7 separate regions of the Homo sapiens genome follow, and all the other regions are linked to region 1. The links are contacts of gene promoters, found by promoter capture Hi-C in human tissues and cell types (Jung and others, 2019). All regions are on one chromosome and are shown on one strand. The core of a region is centred on a gene start or on the middle of the fragment in contact, and the rest is flanking DNA. Distances in the headings are between cores, read along the strand shown. Region 1 holds the start of BCL6 (BCL6 transcription repressor). Region 2 overlaps TPRG1 (tumor protein p63 regulated 1). Region 3 overlaps TPRG1 (tumor protein p63 regulated 1). Region 4 has its middle 6.4 kb from the start of TPRG1. Region 5 overlaps LOC107986167 (a long non-coding RNA gene). Region 6 overlaps LOC107986167 (a long non-coding RNA gene). Region 7 has its middle 79 kb from the start of TPRG1-AS1.

What was found. The method cuts DNA at HindIII sites, captures the fragments that hold promoters and counts their contacts. A contact is called where the count stands out against the background at its distance.
Region 2: a fragment that was not itself captured here is called in contact with the fragment with the promoter of BCL6 in region 1 in 1 of the 25 tissues and cell types used here (thymus).
Region 3: a contact is called between a fragment that was not itself captured here and the fragment with the promoter of BCL6 in region 1, in 1 of the 25 tissues and cell types used here (heart right ventricle).
Region 4: a contact is called between a fragment that was not itself captured here and the fragment with the promoter of BCL6 in region 1, in 1 of the 25 tissues and cell types used here (heart right ventricle).
Region 5: a fragment that was not itself captured here is called in contact with the fragment with the promoter of BCL6 in region 1 in 1 of the 25 tissues and cell types used here (lymphoblastoid cells).
Region 6: a contact is called between a fragment that was not itself captured here and the fragment with the promoter of BCL6 in region 1, in 1 of the 25 tissues and cell types used here (liver).
Region 7: a contact is called between a fragment that was not itself captured here and the fragment with the promoter of BCL6 in region 1, in 1 of the 25 tissues and cell types used here (liver).

What each region holds. Positions count from the first base shown.
Region 1 is chr3:187,744,017-187,746,790 of GRCh38, forward strand. BCL6 (BCL6 transcription repressor) reads right to left here and starts at 1,452. Exons shown (of 10, transcript NM_001706.5): 1 at 1,394-1,452. BCL6-AS1 (BCL6 antisense RNA 1) reads left to right here. Exons shown (of 2, transcript NR_173091.1): 1 at 1-28; 2 at 1,228-2,010. RefSeq lists an enhancer at 565-1,090. The HindIII fragment of the contact is 4,851 bases long and covers 1-2,774 here.
Region 2 is chr3:189,258,323-189,261,096 of GRCh38, forward strand. All of the region lies in intron 4 of TPRG1 (tumor protein p63 regulated 1), which reads left to right. Among named protein-coding and RNA genes, the nearest start is that of TPRG1-AS2, 19 kb to the left of the region's middle. The HindIII fragment of the contact is 8,541 bases long and covers 1-2,774 here.
Region 3 is chr3:189,186,024-189,188,797 of GRCh38, forward strand. All of the region lies in intron 1 of TPRG1 (tumor protein p63 regulated 1), which reads left to right. Among named protein-coding and RNA genes, the nearest start is that of TPRG1, 15 kb to the left of the region's middle. The HindIII fragment of the contact is 6,477 bases long and covers 1-2,774 here.
Region 4 is chr3:189,164,200-189,166,973 of GRCh38, forward strand. It overlaps a transcript of TPRG1 not described here. Among named protein-coding and RNA genes, the nearest start is that of TPRG1, 6.4 kb to the right of the region's middle. RefSeq lists an enhancer at 2,279-2,774. The HindIII fragment of the contact is 5,166 bases long and covers 1-2,774 here.
Region 5 is chr3:189,088,825-189,091,598 of GRCh38, forward strand. All of the region lies in intron 2 of LOC107986167 (a long non-coding RNA gene), which reads right to left. It also overlaps a transcript of TPRG1 not described here. Among named protein-coding and RNA genes, the nearest start is that of TPRG1, 82 kb to the right of the region's middle. The HindIII fragment of the contact is 4,895 bases long and covers 1-2,774 here.
Region 6 is chr3:189,067,551-189,070,324 of GRCh38, forward strand. The region is part of intron 4 of LOC107986167 (a long non-coding RNA gene); the gene reads right to left. It also overlaps a transcript of TPRG1 not described here. Among named protein-coding and RNA genes, the nearest start is that of TPRG1, 100 kb to the right of the region's middle. The HindIII fragment of the contact is 9,097 bases long and covers 1-2,774 here.
Region 7 is chr3:189,025,274-189,028,047 of GRCh38, forward strand. It overlaps a transcript of TPRG1 not described here. Among named protein-coding and RNA genes, the nearest start is that of TPRG1-AS1, 79 kb to the left of the region's middle. The HindIII fragment of the contact is 3,207 bases long and covers 1-2,774 here.

The DNA.
Region 1 (2,774 bases), core at 202-2,701:
GCTCTGTTCGTCTTTCTCCTCGCCCAAGGTAAGGACCTCGGGAATCTGAAGCCTGGCGTCCACTACGCTCAGGCCCGCAGTTCCCTTTTTACAGAGCTTGCACCATGGGAAAAAATAAAATAAAATTTAGGAAAGGGAGGCAACAGCCATTGGGAGCCAACACAGAGTCACGCAGCGCCCAAAATACAAACACCGCAGCGGCCAGAAATCCCGCCACCTTTCTCGTTCTCCCAGGCTGTCCTGTCGAGGTTCCCTGAGTCCCCCCGCACACTGAAAGGCATCGCAGGTGCAGTGCGCACCCCTTTCCCACCCACCCCAAGAAGCCCTGTCCCGCCATCAGTCTCTCTCCTCGGGATGAGCAGGGAGAGCGCGCGGAGGTTCCCGACTCCCTCGACTACAACCAAGAAAGAATAATTTTCAAAGTGTTCAACATCCCCGCCCCCAAGCTCCCCAAAACACAGGGGCAGGGAACACCAAAACACTCGGCTCTCATTAGGAAGATCACGGCTCTGAAAGGAAATAGTAGACACGATACTTCATCTCATCTGGATTTATGACCAAAAAAACAAAAACAAAAACCCAAAGAGTTCGCTTGCATTTTTTCCTTCCAAATCTCGGTTCGGCTCGAAGGCAGGGAATCTAAAAGACCGAGGCCGATGGAAGAGAGCCAGCGGGGCGAGCGAGCGGGCAGCCTCCCTTTTTGCCTCCCGGAGTTACCCAGAAGGACAGGGGAAGGGAAGGAAGAAGAGGCGAGGAAAAAGAGGAGGGAGGGAAGCGGAGGCCAGGAGCGACGGAGCAAGGAAAGCAGTTTGCAAGCGAGAAAAGAGGGAAAAAACACAGCCGCACGAATCCAGAGAGATCACAAGCCGTACGCAAGCAGCAGCAGAAAGAGCGAGAGCGCGAGCGCGCGTCCTCTCCGCGGTCTGGGGCCAGACAGCCCCCAGACTAGCCCGAATCACCCCCCAAGCACTGTCTCGTCCTCTCTGCTCCGGCCGCCCCCTAATTCCCCTCCTTCCTCTCCTCCACCTCCTTTCCAAAAACCAAAACAACACAAGGGAGGGTGGCAAAAGCCTCCCCAAACCGGCCGATTCACTCAAAGACAACAATAATAATAATAAATACATAACAATCTATATCCTATGGTGGGAGAGACGTGGGACTAATCTTCGGCATTTATTTTAACACCTGACAGCTAGAATAAATAAATATATACATTTATATCAATAGATACACATAGAAAACTTGGAGCCAAAGCATTTGGCAAGAGCGGAAAAAAAAAGAATTAAAAGGTAAAATAATGATCATGAGCAGCGGCGGCGGCAGCGGCACCAGCGGCAACAGCGGCGGCGGCGGCAGTAGCAGCAGCAGCGGCGGCAGCAACAGCAATAATCACCTGGTGTCCGGCCTTTCCTAGAAACTTCTTGCATCACCACTTCTAAGAACCCCAGTTCTAAGAATCAACAGAGCTCAATTCTCGGAATTTGAGCTTCGGACTTTACCACTGCTACGTGGCAGGGGAGGACTTGGTGTCAGCTCTCCGAGATTTTTACTGCCCCTGGCCAACCAAAAGCCCTCAAAGCCACAAGATTTTTTCACTGGCCGGCATATTTCGAGGTCCTCATAAGCAGAGCGTCTCGGATTTGGAGGTTCCGGTTCGAGGCTCGAGGGGCCTGAAGGTGGCTCTCCCTCCCCGGGCCCAAGACGATGGTATGGCCTGCTCCGCCACCATCACGTGGGCTCCTCCTCTGTGACGTCGGCGCCTTCGCTGTAGCAAAGCTCGGCCTCTGGAATTCTGAGAACTAATTTGCTATTCGGTGACATAAGAGGGGGAGTGCGCTTTGCTTTCCCGGGGTCTGGGGCTAATTCCTTCTTTCTTACCCATAAACTCAGCAGATCGAGCTAAATGCACAAAAGGGAGCGAGAGGTTTGAACCACTGGGAAAAGTATGTTATATATATAGTAGGGTTAGAGAGGCGAGTAAGAGAAAAATAAAATAAAATAAACATCACAGCTCTTTCCAACTAGAATATTAGGCACCACGAGAAAAATATTTGCCAAGCAGTTTTCGGTGGGTTCATTTGCTTTATTTTTATTTAGGACAGGGGTTTTTGCTGTTGTTCTGGGTTTTTTTCTTTCTGGTGTGGTGGCTTGGGATTTTTGGTTTCTGTATTTTGATGGTTTATGGATTTTTGCTTCTGATTTTTTGCCTTTTGCAAGTTTGTGGTGTTACGTAAATCACAGGATCGGCATCGGTTGGATTTTTTTGTACGTGCCTTTTCTTTCCCTATCTAATCCCTCAAGCGTTTTAAAGATGTATTATTTCAATACTAATACTATTGAAAGAAGCTTAAATTTTTGGCCATATGTAACAATCCCAGCCCCCACTTTTTTTTTTTTTTTTTCCTTTGGTGCAATTTTCTTTTTCCCCCTTGGACTTTTGCTGAAGTGTGTCTCTCCTGCACTTCAGAGAAATGTTCAAAGGATTTGTTTTGGTTTGGTTTGTTTCTTTCCAGGACAGCAAGTGGTGGGTTTAATCTGTTATTGTTGACTCTTGGGAAATTTCTTGTTGCAAGAAACGTGTGTGTGGGGGGGAGGGTGGGGGTGGCGGGGTGGTATGTGTGTGTTTTCTACAAAATTCTGTGAGCCAAATACCTGTTTGTGTTTTGTTTTCTCTTAAGGTCTTGAGATTTTTGTTTTCGAGGCTCGTTTCAAGGTCGTTGTAAAAAAATCTCTTCAGTCTGTGTTTAAGAGATCAGCCGGAGGGAATTCTAAAG
Region 2 (2,774 bases), core at 195-2,694, 1.5 Mb after region 1:
ACCAGCAGAGGGTGCAGAACAGCTAAGATTGCTGCCTGCTCCTTCCTCTGGAAGCTTTGTCCCAGAGAGGCACCAACCAGATGCTAGCCAGAGCTCTTGTGTTTGAGGTGTCTGTTGACCCCTGCTGGACGTGTCTCCCCATCAGGAGGCATGGGGGTCAGGGACTGACTTGAGGAGGCAGTGTGTCCCTTGGCAGAGCTCAAGCACTGTGCTGGGAGATATGCTGCTCTCGTCAGAGCTGGCAGGCAGGAATGTTCAAGTCTGCTGAAACTGTGCCCACAGCCGCCCCTTCCCCCAGGTGCTCTGTCCCAGGCAGATGAAAGATTTATCTATAAGCCCCTGATTGGGGCTGCTGCCTTTCTTTCGGAGATGCCCTGCCCAGAGAGGAGGAATCTAGAGAGGCAGTCTGGCTACAGCAGTTTTGCGGCGCTGCAGTGGGCTCCATCCAGTCCGAACTTCCCAGTGGCTTTGTTTACACTGTGAGGGGAAAACTGCCTACTCAAGCCTTAGTAATGGTGGACGCCCCTCCCCCAACCAAGCTCAGTGTCCCAGGTCGACTTCAGACTGCTGTGTTGGCAGCGAGAATTTCAAGCCAGTGGATCTTAGCTTGCTGGGCTCCATGCGGGTGGGATCCACTGAGGAAGACCACTTGGCTCCCTGGCTTCAGCCCTCTTTCTAGAGTGAACAGTTCTGTCTTGCTGTGTTCCAGGGACCAATGGGGTATGAAAAAAACTCCTGCAGCTAGCTTGGTGTCTGCCCAGATGGCCTCCCAGTTTTGTGCTTGAAACCCAGGGCTCTGGTGGTGTAGGCACCTGAGAGAATCTCCTGGTCTGTGGGTTGTGAAGATCGTGGGGAAAGCGTAGTGTCTAGGCCAGAATGCACCATCCCTCATGGCACAGTCCTTCATGGCTTCCCTTGGCTAGGGGAGGGAGTTCCCTGACCCCTTGGGCTTCCCAGGTGAGGCGACACCCCACCCTGCTTCTGCTTGCCCTCTGTGGGCTGTACCCACTGTCTAATCAGTCCCAATGAGATGAACTGGGTACCTCAGTTGGAAATGCAGAAATCACCCCTTCTGTGTTGATCTTGCTGGGAGCTGCAGGCTGGAGCTATTCCTGTTCAGCCATCTTGCCCAGGAATCCCTTTTTTTTTTTTTTTTTTTTTTTACGAAGTCTTGCTCTGTTGCCCAGGCTGGAATGCAGTAGTGTGATCTCGGCTCACTGCAACCAACCCCCACCTCCTGGGTTCAAGTGACTCTCCTGCCTCAGCCTCCCAAGTAGCTGGGATTACAGGTGTCTGCCACCACACCCTGATAATTTTTTGTATTTTTGGTAGAGACGGGGTTTCAGCACGTTGGCCAGGCTGGTCTCAAACTCCTGATCTCAAGTGATCCACCCGCCTGGGCCTCCCAGACTGCTGGGATTATAGGTGCAAACCACCATGTCTGGCCTATTTGTTTTTTATGCCCATAAGAAACAACAGTGAAGGAACTGCAATTCTGAGTGGTTGAGTGACTTGTATGCAATCGTGGAAACAGATGATGGTAGCATCTGAAACATGAAATTCTCTGATTTCACCTCCTCCTCTGCCTTTGTCATGTGCCTAATTCTTACTTGTTCTCAAATGCATTGTAATTTTTGATGGTCACTAAGCCCCATTTCTTTCCCCATATTCTCATCTGAACTCTAATGAGGAGATAGAATATAGACAGTTTAAGGCTTAAAGACCTTGTTCTGAAGTCGGGCTGACAGGGAGTCAATCCAGATTTCCCTCTGGGTGACCTGGAGCAAGTTACTTAACAATCCATGCGTCGGTCTTCCCATTTGTAAACTGGAGGGAGGAGGGGAGGGTTGGATAATAGTATCTCTCTTATTGGTCTGTGTTGAGGGTTCCATGAGATAATATGGGTAAAATGCTTAGAAGAACATTTGGTATATAGTAAGCATTTGAATTACGCAAGCATCTTTAATAGTTTTGGTAGAAAGACCTTGGTTTAGGATTCAGGGACCTGGGTCCTGATACATTTTCCTGATATAAGTCCCCTCCCCTTGCTGAATCTCCTCTTGCTAAATTTCTAAAATCTCTAATTTTTCTTTGTATTGAATCCTATACCCTTGTAGTACTATATTAGTGTAGCAATTTTCCAAAAGCCATTCATCTTAGAGGGCTAAATGATTTTACCTTATCAATTCCTCCTGTGAAAAAATATCTCTAAAGAGGTTTTCTGCTGGAAAATATTGTTGCTGTCACATTGATATGCCAACAAAAGCTAAGCAGGGAGGTCAGGCCAAGAAATATCTCCCTGCAAGAGAAGGCATCGCACATGTATCTCTCCATGCTATTTAAATTTGCATTCTGCAACATAGAAGGGATAGGCCATGCTGCAGAAGCCAGGTCCAGGAAACTGCTTTCTTTGGCCTTTACACATCCTTTTGGAGAGATGCTGGTGAAAGCAGCAACTACCATCTGCCTCCTGTTGACTTAGTGTCAGCAGGTGGAGGGAGGAAGGAGGGCATCGCAGACATCATTCTATTATCTCAACCTTGCTTTCTCGGATCCAAAGGCCAAGAAGTTGCTGCTCCATGCCCTCAGAGCTCTAATTTGGCACCTCTTCCTGAAATGAGAGCTTGAAAGGGCTTCTGCTCTGGGTGAAACCGGCTCGTGGCCCGGGCCAATTCTGCTGGCTTCGCGTCTGTCAGTGTGTCCTAATCACTGTTATAAGTGTGGTTCTGCGGAACATCTTGTAAAATATTTTCCTATTGCTCCAGCAACATCTC
Region 3 (2,774 bases), core at 107-2,606, 1.4 Mb after region 1:
TAAATTTGATCCTTAAGTCATTAATGCTTCTACTAGGCTCTAAGCTTTAGGCAGCAAGTTATTTTTTAAAAATTTATCTTTGTAGTTGTATAGTCAATAGACAAAGATAAAATCTTTGTTCTATGTGAGATAAACACTAAATGGAAGTTTTCACTATGTAAAAAATCCAGAAAGCTATGACTGGGTTATTTCATAAACTGGAGAAAAGTCAATGATGACCCGAAATGTTGTGATTGGTGAGGGTGAGAGGGGAATTTTTCTTGGATTGACCATGTCTAGCTGGAAATTTGCCCAGGGTACGAAGGCTGGTCCTCTCTGAAGTGCTGATCTCATTGCTGGGAGGGAACAGCTAATGAAACCAGACAGAAAGTCCCTACCATTCGATGTTTTTTTCCTTGTTGAATTAAAACAAAACAAAACAAAAAACCTAGTAACTTGTTTTTTCTGATTTCCTACCCTTGGTGCTCTTAAAGACGCAATTTTCTGCAAACATTTAACCATGAACTAGCACCTTTTGACTTACAGTAGGATAAAAATGATAAAAATAAATATATTCCGGCTCTTTTAGTCTTATTGATTTGGTATTTGACCTGTTTTATAAATGACCTGTAAGAGCTCCATCTTGTATTAGAATGAGGGCTCCACACCAGACCTGAGTAGATTCCTAGACCAGCATAATTAGAGAGAAAATTGAGATGGGGGCAAGTAGTTCAGTATTCTCCTAGTACATATGAAAAAAAAAAAGATAGCTAGAGAAGAAATGGATTAATGGATTATACTTGAACCTGGATTTCCTGATGCCTACTTCTTCAGGAATTCCCCACTATCGCTAGATTTCATATATTCTGCTCACAATTGTTCAGATTCCTCTAGCATAGATTCAGTCAATTATTAGACTTCAAACTGTTTTGAAATCCTATCATATTTTCTAGGCCTTTAGATTCATTTGTTCATCTAAAGTGTTTTTTTTTTTTTTTTTTTTTGAGATGGAGTCTCACTGTCACCCAGCCTGGATCACAGTGGCACCATTTCGGCTCACTGCAACACTTGCCTCTCAGGCCCAAGTGATCCTCTCACCTCAGCCTCCTGAGTAGCTGGGATCACAGATTCGCACCACCACACTTGGCTAATTTTTTGTACTTTTGGTAGAGACGGGGTTTTGCCATGTTGCCCAGGCTGGTCTCAAACCACTGGGCTCCAGCGAGCCTCCTATCTCAGCCTCCCAAAGTGCTGGGATTACAGGCATGAGCCACCCCGGCCAAGTTCATCTAACTTTTTTTTGTTTGTTTTTTGTTTTTTTTGAGATGGAGTCTCACTCTGTCACCCAGGCTGGAGTGCAGTGACACGGTATTGGCTCACTGCAACCTCTGCCTCCTGGGTTCAAGCGATTCTTCTGCCTCAGCATCCTGAGTACCTGGGATTACAGACCCCGCCACCACGCTCAGCTGATTTTTATTTTTTTTTTTTGTATTTTTAGTAGACACCAGGTTTCACCATATTGGTCAGGCTGGTCTCAAACTCCTGACCTCGTGATCCACCTGCCTCGGCCTCCCAAAGTGCTGGGATTACAGGCGTAAGCCACCGTGCCCAGCCTCATCTAATTCTTATACTGTCCTGTAAGATGTGTGGATCTACTTGACATTTGAGAAAACTGAGGCTGAGGGGTTTAAATTGCCACTCAAACTCAGGTAGCTGGTAAGTTGCAGAGCCCAGATTCAAGCTCAAGTCCTTCTGACTCCAAAGCTTTCTCTAATATGCTGGTCTATTTTGTGATAAAGGTATTGATTGCATGAAATGAATCAATTTTTATCTGAATTGCTTCTTACCCATTATCTTCTGAAAGCGTTGACGTAATTAATTCTCGAAACATTTGTGTCTTTGAGTTGTAGTGAATAATCTTGATATATCACCCACAATGTTGTATGTAAATCAAAAGTAAAGACATATTTCAGGCTCCAACGGAGGAAGTTATAATAAGTTGTCTGGTTCAGCAACTGATTGGCTGAACTCCCAAATGGAGTGAAAGCTCAAAAACTGAAAACAAGCAAGAATTGAACTTCTGCAGAAGTCAAAGAAATAAAAAGAAAAGATAATTGAAAAAAAGAAAAACTGTTCAGTGCAATATAAGTAATGTTACCTCTACTAGAGAACAGATGCATTTCAAGAAACACTGACATCAGAAAATTCATTCGAGAGTTAACAGACGTGAGTACCTTTAGGGATGTGTGCTGGGACATGGATTCCCTTTGGCCAGGCATTTTCTTTTGACCTCTTCTCAGAGAAAGGTGAGTTATGCTATGACTTCTAGCCCATTTGGCACAATGAAAGAGTAAAGGTGGAAAATATTTTACTCTGTTTTGTTTCAGACCAGCATTTTTGAGCCTGGCTTGTGTTGGGGCCCAAGTTCTAGGTCCGATGGGTGTGGAATCACTCGTCTGGATAGCCTGCCTTTACTATCCTGTCTCCCAGCCCTATGTTTAAAACAGTCACTGCCATCCTTCCCTTTTCCTCCTCCACATCACTTGCTGTAGTCTTTTGCTATAAGACTAGAATTTCTGCCAAGCCCTGTCCAGTCCATCTATAACTAAGGGCTTTGTTCTCAGATCTGTTCATTGGAAGTGTACTGGGCTTATCTCTAAGCAAACATTCCTCCCTCCCTCTTCCCTCATATAATTTACATAACAGGTTTGTAACTTCTTGGCCTGCATAGCACTTTCATAACTTCTTGTAAGATAAGCCTTGCCCAAGAGACACTGTCTGTCTCCATTCCTCAG
Region 4 (2,774 bases), core at 129-2,628, 1.4 Mb after region 1:
TCACCCAGGCTGGAGTGCAGTGGTGCGATCTCCACTCACTGCAACATCCACCTTACAGGTTCAAGCGATTCTCCTGCCTTAGCCTCCTGAGCAGCTGGGACTACAGGTGCCCACCATCATGCCTGGCTAATTTTTGTATTTTTGTAGAGACGGGGTTTCACCATGTTGGCCTGGGTAGTCTTGAACTCCTGATCTTAGGTGATCCACCCGCCTCGGCCTCCCAAAGTACTGGGATTACAGGCGTGAGCCACCAAGCCTGGCCCCTACTTTTTTTCTTAAATTGGGACAATTTTTGGCTCGAAACACAGTTGTGAAAACCTAGGATACTAGCTTCTTTGTTCATTATCTACTTTTCTAGTCATTGCATTTGTTATTCTTTTTACCTCTTTTGAAAATTGAAATAAGCTAAAAAAAAAAATAAAAGCTTCCCTTTTTTTTAAAAAAAAAAGGTATCTGAAATTTCACAAAGTATGCTGGCATCACAGCATTCCATGAATATTTAATCATCATCATCAAGACAGGAGGTTGGAGAAAAAAATCAGGTTGTGATATTTGGGAACAGCAGGTGTGGGAAGGAGGGTGTTGACATCCTCTGAAAACGGATATGGCATGTTGTGTGGCAGGTTCCCTCCACAGCTCCCATGTCCCCCTGGGGTCCCAAACGTGCTTTAAGAAAACTCTGAGGAGCTGGAGCTTGTCCTCAGCCTTCATGTGGCAGAGTATCCCTGGAAATGGGGATGGGCTTTGCTGAACTCCTTTCCTTCACAAAAACCTCCACGATTTCTCTTTTCTGGGCCTTTGTACAATGTAGCTAGCTCCAGCCCCCATCTCTGTGCATTTTTACCCTTATTACTGTTGTTAAGCAAGAACCTCTTTCATGTGTAGTAAGTCAGCAAGAGTACAGATATCCAGCTATGAGGATTTGGGATGGAGGGTAATGAAACTTTGAGTTTACCTAGGAACGTTTATATCATACAGTGAGGAGCAATGTAAAAATGAAAGAATCGTGGGTCATTCATGTACAGATTACTTGCCTTCTAACCTTACCACACCCTCAACTTTGCCTGCCGCCCAGTGTTCCAGACACACAGGTTTTACTGCTGTTTCCTTACAGCAAGACTGATTCACCCTACAGGTTCTTGCCCCTGAGCTTTTGTACAGTCTATTCTGGGTTGGAGTTTTCTAAATGACTGTCACGATAGATGGAGAAACTGTAACACTCTGGTTCTCAAACTTTTATGTGCATAACAGCCATCTGGCAAGGCTTGTTGACATGGAGATTTCTAGGCCTACCCCCAGAGATTCTAATCCAGTAAATCAAGGGGCCTGGGCATGTGCATTTTTAATATGAGGTTCTCAGGCAGGTGTCCAGGGACCTGCGCATCAAATGCTGTCTTCGGGGTGAGAGGCTCTTTCTGGACACTAAAGGCTGCCCTGGCATGAAGATCCAGGCTGATACTGGAGTCATAAGCCCTGGACTCTGGGCCTGTCTTTGATTCAGGCTGCTCACTGCACTGGGGGTGGGACTATTATTTGTGTGACAGTGGAGTAAGTTTTTCCCCTGTGGACCCCAAAGATGCAGAAAGGGGGAAAGAATCCAAAATTACTGCCAAGAGGTGGAAACTGCTCACCGTGTGATTCAGGTGGCCATTGAGTGTTGCCAATATGGAAAATCTCTTAGGCTACAGGAACAGAGGCAGGGCTGTAACTGGTCAGGGACTAAGACAGACAAAAGGAAGATTCCCTCCCTCTCCCCAGGTGATTTGGGCTCTCTGGAAACCCAGAGAGCAGTCGCAGTTCAAAAGAAATCATCAAATGTCAAGACAGAATCACTGAGTAGAGTCCCCAACAACATAATAAAGATGAAAATTAAACATAAACTTCTTGGCTAAGCATTCCAGACCCTCAATAACATGGCCTTGGCCTTAGAGGCCACCATTTCCCTTTAAACTTCAGACATTCCAAGAGAACAGAGCATTCAGTGTCTTCAAATGGGAATTCAAGGGACTGTGTTGATAGATGAGTGCCATAGGATCTTCCTCTCTGGTTCAACTCCTATGGTCCAAACTCAAGTTTTTGAATTGAACTGTTTTGTTGTTTTCATTACGTTGCCATGCCAACTTAGGTTCTAGAGTGTAATCTTACTTTAAAAATCAATCCTTAAGTGGGGACACTGACATGGAGGTGATAACAGTTTGATACTTAGTAGCATAGAATGACAACCTAGAAGAGACCTCACTTTGAGCACGTCCAAACTGCTTTAATTTGCTGACAAGGAAGCCAAAGGATACCGAGGGAAACTTGCATAAGGGTATACTTGACCGAGCACACCCAGGGAGTTAGTCAACTAGGGAAGTAACTCTCCATGCCTACAGAGAAATGCATAATACCTTTTATCCTAACTAGTATCCCTGATACTTTCCTTGGTGTCTCAGCGTTTCAAAAGCCTATCTTATTTGCATTGTAATTTATCACTAGCTCTTCGTTTGTGTGTTTAAATTTTGTCAAGGTTCTTCTTCCTTCTTTAATTTCTTCCCTGATGAGACATGTAAAATGCCTCAAGCTGTTAGGAGAAGAACTTTAGGTAGGAAGAAAAAAATAATCCAATGGTAATAGTTTCATCTTACTGAGGTTTTTAAAGATCAGGGTCATTTTCAATTTAATTCGACCATATATTGGGTATCCGAGTCTGCCGGTGACTGAACTGGGGGTGGGACTCTTATTTGTGTGACAGAGGAGTAACTTCTTCCCCTGTGGACCCCAAAGATGCAGAA
Region 5 (2,774 bases), core at 92-2,591, 1.3 Mb after region 1:
TTGAGTAAGTAATATATCTTTTTCGTACATCAAACTTTTTAAAAAAGCAAGTTATTAGATTAAATTACCAATGAAGTCACTCCAAGCCCTAATGCTCTTCCTCTGTTTCTCTCCCTCTCTGTCAGATATATGTGTATCTATTGATATCTATCTATCTATCTATCTATCTATCTATCTATCTATCTATCTATGTATCATCTGTCTATTAATACCTTTTTACAAAAGGCACAACTAAGGCATTTGTTTTAGGATTTTTTTCATCTGTGTTCTTAAGTCCAATTGAATGATTACAGGACTAACAGTCTATAGTTTGATATCAGGATTTTCTACTGTTACAGAATCAAATGGGAAGCTGTCCATCAAAAAACACTGTGGAATGTTTTCTTAAAAATTTAATAGAATTCATCTGTAGAATCACATGGGATTCCTTTAACAGAAATACTCTGATTATTTTTTCAATCTTCTCTTCTGACTACTGGCTATTCTGGTTTTTCAAGATTCTTCTGTAGTCTATTTTGTATCTTTACTAAAACTAAGACATATTATCCAATTTGTCTAGATTTTCAAATTTACTGGCATAACTTATAAACAATATTCTCTCTTAACATTTTCAAAATCTGTTCCATATTGGTATTTTAGTCTATTTTCCACTGCTTATCATGAAATATCTGGAACTGGGTTATTGATAAGAAATTTATTTCTTACAGCTATGGAGGCTGAGAAGTCCAATGTCAAGGAACCACATCTGGTGAGGCCCTCCTTGCTGGTGGGGACTCTGCAGAGTCCCAAGGCTATACAGAGCATCACATGGTGGGGAGGCTGAGCAAGCTAGTTCATGTCTCTCTTCCTCTTCTTATAAAGCCACCAGTCCCATTATCATGATAATGCACTAACCCATTAACCTATTATTTCATCAATTCATGAATGGACTAATCCTTGATAATCAAATCACCTTTTAAAGGTCCCACCTTTCAATACTGCCCCATTGGGAAATAAGTTTCAACATGAGTTTTGGAGGGGACAAACATTTAAACCATAGCAACTGATAATAATATTTTTTATTTTGTTTGTCTTCTTTTTTTTATGAGATTTTTCCAGGAGTTTATCTATATAATTAGTCTTTTCAAGGAAGCAGCTATTGGGGTAATTGATTAATCCTAAAATCTATTATTTTATTAATACTTATTTTCTATGTATTACTTTTCAATAGCCATTGGATTTATTTCATTGTTATTTTATATAGTATTTTAAATTGAATTCATATTTAATTTATTTTCAGTATTTCCTGTTTGATAGTAAATGCATTTAAGAACATACGGATTCTTCTGAATATTACTTTAATACAAAGCTACATCCCCCAAATTTTGACGCATAGTATTCTTATTGTCATTTATTTCTAAATGGATTTTGACCACAATTATTATTTAAAATGTTTCAATATTTTCAGGTGGATTGTCATTTTTTGGAGAGGATGGATAATGTTTGTCGTTAATTTCTAACTGTACTGCTTTAAGATCAGAATCTCTGATCTATACGTAATTTTTGCTTCATAGCAGGCTGATAATAGGTCAGTGTTTATAGATATGCAAAGTGGAAAAAATATATATTGTTAATTAAATTATTCAGATCTGTATTTGCTTTTGATCTACTTAGGATGACGATTATTGAGAAAGATATATTAAGATATTTCATTGTTTTTGCTTTATCATAGTTTTTTATTTAGATATTTTGCATCCATTTTAATTAGGTATATAGAAGGTTAATGACAGCTTTATTCTCTTAATCATACCTTTTATCAATTTAAACAATTCTTTGATATTTAAAAAACTTTTCCCCTTGAGTTCTGCCTTTTATATTAACGTTAATATATCTACTATTTTCAACATTTACCCTATGTATCTCTTTAATGTTTTCATTTTTATCTTTTCTGGATCTTTCTGTTTTAGGTATATCTTTTATAATAACTTATTGCTAAGCTTTATTCTTTTCTTTAACAAATCTTTGTCTCTGACTTATAATAGGGAAATTTATTCCAAAGTCTTTGCTTTGATTAATGACGTTTTGCAATTGTTTCATGCATTTATGTTTTTAACTTAATGACAAGAAGCAGTGTAAAAGAATGTTATTTGCTCTGACTGGGAAACCCAGTTCTACCATAGTAGATATTTGACCTTGCTTAAATTACATATATTTTCTATGCCTCAGTTTCTTCATAAATTAAATGAGAATGATTATAATTATGCTCAATTCATTGACTTATTGTAGGGATTAAGGAAATGATTACATGTAAAATATTTAAAACTTTGCCTGAGAAAGAGTGTGTATGAAATAAATGTCAACTATCATTATGTGGCTTTTTTCTTTCCACTTGTATTTGTTCTCTCCACCCCCTTTCTTCTTCCAGTGGTTTGTAAACAGTGCATTTGAGTTTTATTGTTCTAGCAGTTACTTTGTATATGTGACAGATGCATTTTGAAATCAACTTTATTGAAATATCATTTGTATATAATATCATGTACCCATTTTAAGTATATATTTTGATGAATCGTGACAAATATATACAACCACTTAATTACCACCACAATTGAGATATAGGACATTTCCATCACATAGTAATAGCCTGTGTCATTTCCTATACAATGCTCTCCACACCCTCCACCTCTTTCCAATACCCCGTTAGTCATTGATATGCTTTCTGCCACTATGGATTAGATTTATCTTTTCTAGAGTTTCATATAAATAGGAACACATAGCAGGCAGTCTTTCGTAACATA
Region 6 (2,774 bases), core at 112-2,611, 1.3 Mb after region 1:
CGAGAAAATACACGGGGGAAAAGACAGTCTCTTAAGTAAGTGGTGGTGGGAAAACTGGATATCCATATGCAGAAGGATGAAGCTAGAGCCCTATCTCTTCACATATGTAAAAAAAATCAAATCAAAATGGATTGAAGGCTTAAATGTAAGACCTCAAGCTATGAAACTACTAAAGGAAAACATTGGGGAAACTCTCTAGGACATTGGTCTGGGCAAAGATTTCTTGAGTAACAACCCATAAGCACAGGTAGTCAAAGCAAAAATGGACATGTGGAATCATATCAAGTTAAAAAGCTTCTGCACAACAAAGGAAACAATCGACAAAAAGACAACCCACGGAACAGGAGAAAATATTTGCAATCTATCTGGCTGACAAGGGATTACTATCCAGAATATAAAAGGAGCTCAAACAACTCAATAGGGAAAAATCTAATAATCTGATTAGAAAATGGACAAAAGATCTGAATAGACTTTTCTCAAATGAAGACGTACAAATGGCCAACAGGTATATGAAAAGGTGCTCAATATCATTTATCAGCAGAGAAATGTAATTCAAAACCACCGTGAGATATCATCTCACTCCAGTTAAAGTGACTTTTATCCAAAAGAGGCAATTGCTGGCAAGAATGTGGAGAAAAAGTAACTGTCATACACATTTGATAGAAATGTAAATTAGTAGAGCCACTATAGAGAACAGTATGGTGGTTCCTCAGAAAACTAAAAATAAAACTACCAGATGATTCAGCAATGCCACTGCTGGGTAGATATCTAAAGGAAATGAAATCCGTATGTTGAAGAGATAATTGCACTCACAACATGCGCTATTTGCAATAGCCAGGATTTGGAATCAACCTAAGTGTCCATCAACAGATGAATGGATTAAAAAAAGATGGTACATATACACAACAGAGTACTAGTCAGCCATAAAAAAGAACAAGATTCTTGGCTGGACGCAGTGGCTCACGCCTGTAATCCCAGCACTTTGGGAGGCCAAGGTGGGTGGATCACTAGGTCAAGCGTTTGAGATCAGCCTGGCCAACATAGTGAAACCCCGTCTCTACTAAAAATATAAAAAATTAGCCAGGCGTGGTGGCGGTCGCCTGTAATCCCAGGTACTCAGGAGGTTGAGGCAGGAGAATCGCTCAAACCTGGGAGGCGGAGGTTGCGGTGAGCCGAGATTGTGCCACTGCACTCCAGCCCGGATGATAGTGCGAAACTCTGTCTCAAAAAAGAGAAAAAGGAAGGAAGGAAGGGAGGGAGGGAGGAGGGAGGAGGGAGGACAAGTTTCCATCATTTGCAACAACGTGGAGAGAACTGGAGAACATTATGTTAAGTAAAATAAGCAAGGGACAGAAAGACAAACTTAGCATTTTCCACTCATTTGTGGAAGCTAAACGTTAAAACAATTGGATTCATGAAGGTAGAGAGTAGAATGAAGGTTACCAGATGGGCATTTATTCAGAGAAATGAAGACCTATGTTTACACAAAAACCTGTATATGAATATTTATAGATGCTTTATTCATAATAGCCAAAACTGGAAACAATTCAGATGTCACTCAGTGGGTGAATAGCTAAACAAATTGTTACATCTATATCATGAATTACTGCTCAGCAATGAAAAAATCGCTAACTTCCCATGTGTACAACAGCCTGGATAAATCTTAAGAGAATTATGGTGACTGAAGGAAAAAAGCCAATTCCAGAAGTTATATTTTATAATTCCATTTAAACAACTTTCTTTAAAATACATACTTTTAGAAATGGAGAACAGGTTAATGGTTACCAGGGATAAAGGTAGGAGTGGGCCAGACGACAGTGAGTACAGCAAAAAGGGAAACATGAGAGATTCTTTCGGTGATGGAACTGTTCTGTATCTTGACTGTATCAATGTCAAAATCTTGGTTGTGATATTGTACGATAGATAGTTTAAGATCTTACTTTTGGGGGAGACTGGATAAAGGGTACATGGTATTTATCTATATTATTTTTTACAGTTGCATCTAAAGGTATAATGATCTAAAACAAAAATGTTTAATAAAAAAAGAAAAGCCCTTGCAAATACCACATGACCCAGAAATTTCAGTCTTGGGCATTTAGTCCAGAGAAATGACAACTGACATTCCCACAAAATGTATACACATGTTCATAGCAACTTTCTTCATAATAGCCCCAATCTAGAAATAGCCTAGATGTGCTTCAACAGGTAAGTAGTTAAACAAACTGAGGAACATACATACTATGGAATACTACTCCACAATACAAAGGAAAAACAGGCTGGGCGTGGTGGCTCATACCTGTAATACCAGCACGAGGTCAAGAGATCGAGACCATCCTGGCCAACATGGTGAAACCCTGTCTCCACTAAAAACACAAAAATTAGCTGGATGTGGTGGTGCCACGTGTCTGTAGTCCCAGCTACTCGGGAGGCTGAGGCAGGAGAATCGGTTGAACCTGGGAGGTGGAGGTTGCAGTGAGCAGAGATCACGCCACTGCACTCCAGCCTGGTGACAGAGCGAGACTCCATTTCAAAAAAAGAAAAAAAGGAAAAACAATAAGAAATACACACTGCTTGGAAGAATGTCCAGTGAATTCGACTGACAGAAATAATTTCAAGTTACATACTGTATGATTTAATTTATATAACGCTTATGAAATGACAAAATGTTAGAAATGGAGGACAAATAAGTGGTTGCCAGGGAGTCGTGATGAAAGAGGTATAGGCAGGAGAGGGGTGAGTATCATTATGAAAGGTCAACACAAGGAACCCTTGGA
Region 7 (2,774 bases), core at 130-2,629, 1.3 Mb after region 1:
TGTGGTTTCCAGGGGTCACACATTCACTCACTGCCTCCCTTGGCTTGGGGTGGGGGTTCCCTTGGCTCCGTGTTGCTCCTGGGTGGGCCACTGCCCTGCCCTGCTTTTCTCCATTTTCTCTGCATTGAATTGCTTCCCTGATCAGTCCCAATGCGAGTCCCTGGATATTTCAGTTGAAGGTGCTGTATTTACTTGCTCCCTTTGTTCCTCTCCCTGAGTGCCATGCAAGTTAACTGCTTCTAATCAGCCATCTTGTCTCCCTCCTTAATAATTCTCAACTGGCTTGTGGATGTATCTTCTCAAGGGTGCTGATAAAATGTGAGCAGTATACTGAAGCGAATTGTGTGTGGTATGATAGTGTATTCACTCTAATGGTTGACATGTCCTCTGAAATAAGGGGAAAAACAAGGAGTAACTTGCTGACACTGAGAGGAAAGAGACATGGAATAATCAAGCATGTGCCTGCTTTCTGGAATATTCTCTAGGGTATAAGAGAATGTTGTCTTTTGAGTATCTAAGAAAGCATTAACAAATCAGTTGACATATCTACAGTGAAAAAAATAATAACTTCATGTTGAACAGTGATCCAGAAAAAGTGCAAAATGGTGGATGATTTTTAAACATTCAGAGATACAGTTCTTCCTCAAAAGAGATGTGTTGTTATTAATCGTGACTTTTTTCAGTTTTTTAAAATATTTTTAGGCCCTTATTAGTGCATCACCAAAATTTATAGGCTTCACAGTCATTGAACACAAGGTTGAGAATCCCTATTCTAAGGAGTGAGGGAGAGTGTATTAGTTAGCTCGAGCTGCCACAACAAAATGCCACAGATTGGGTGTCTTAACAGACATTTTTTTTCTCACTATTTTGGAGACTGAAATTATGATGCTAACAGGGTTGGTTTCTGATGGGGCCTCTCTTCCTGACTTGACAACTGCCTCCTCCTCACTTTGTCCTCATGTGGTCTTTTCTCTGTGGAGAGAGAGAGACAGTGAGAAAACGACAGAGAGAGAGAGTGAGCTCTGGTGTCTCTTCTTCTTCTTATAAGGACATCAGTCCTATCAGATTAGGGAGCCAGCCTTCAGATCTCATTTAACCTTAGACCTCTTTAAAGATCTAAATCCAAATACTGTCACATTGGGGGTTGGATTTTGACATATGAACTTTGGGGCCACACAATTCAGTCTATAACAGGGAGCAAGTGATTTTTGCACATTGCTGGGCAGGTGAGGTTTATACTAGCCCTGGTATTGGGGAAGTTTTTTCTTTCCACATGGACGAGAACATTGAGATGGAAAAATCAAAACCATGTTTTGGGAATGGCAAGTAGGGTTTAAGCTTAGCTGGAACATAAGATTTGTGCAGGGAGAGATTTAGAATATTAGTTAGAAAAGACATATTGAGGTGAAGTTGTAGAGTCTTGGAAAAGCAGAATGGGGATGCATCACTTGATTTGGGAGGACAGCTAAGAGACACTAATGAGTTTTGAGCTGAAGAATAACATGGAACGAAGCTGTGCTATAGACAGTCACATTGGCGAAGGATGGATTGAAAGACGAAGGAGTAAGATGGAGGCAAGGAGCCCAGGTAGGAGGCAACATGGCGTGTTTGTTGAGAGCATTGACTCCACACCCAGGCTGTCAGGTCTTAAACATGACTTGTGCCACTTATATATATCAATAACTTTAGAAAAATGTCTTTATTTTTCTGAGCTTTTGATTTTTTGTAAGTAAAATGTGCTGATCAATGTGTTAACAGTATTAGATGAGTCAATATCTGTAGGGTGCTTAGAAAAATACCTTGCACGCAATGCTATGCAATTGTTTTCTTGTGCAGTGAAGGTGGGAAAGCACTAGAGAAAAATTCCAAATCAACACTTTCTTCTTTCCTTGACCAACCTTAAAATAAGAGTTTTTCAGTTAATAACTTCTGTGGTGTCTACTACATTTGTACCTCAGGCCTACTTTTGTAAACAATTAGATTTTCACTCAGCCTGCCTCACTCTGACCCTGCCAAAAGAAACCAAAATACCCCACCAGTATTCAGAATGCCTACAAGCAATCAATAAATCCTTTGCTTCTAAAAGATGCAGCTGTTCTAAAAGTTTACATCTGGACTAAGTAAGGTATGTAAATAGAAAGTCAGAACTATGCTGAAAATCTCATTTTTCTGCATTCAACTTGAACAACCAGACTGTAATGAACCAAAACACCATAAAGTCTATGTAGAAATATAAATACACGCATGGTGTATGCAAGACAAGCCCACAGGGGCAATATTATTGTGATTAAAATATGGCTAGGTTGAATTTCTTCACTAGGTTTTCAAAGGCATACAAAATTATGTTTTTATGTATCCAATGCTGTATTCCGTGCTGCTTGGTGGATGGTATTTGGACTCAGTTTGAGTTAGTCTATGTTTTGGATGAATTATGCAAAATCCCCAAATCATATGTTTTGTAAACATAAGAAAGGAAGTGATTCCAATGGATAGGAAAAGTTGTTCCAAATTGGAAAAATGGAAAATCAGGGCCAGATGGAAGTGTGTTGGAAGGCTTAAAAGCAATAGCATTGTGAACAGTGAGCATGCATTCCCTCTTATGCCTTGATGTGAAGGAAAAACTTATTACCGATTCCTGAGAACTGACGTAGTGGCCATTTTTTTTCGTTCCCTCATTATTCATTATTTCATCAAGTATTTACTATTGAGAACTTACAGTGTGCCATGTCCTAGGATTTCTCAGGAAATTCATATTCTGGTGATTATTCATTATT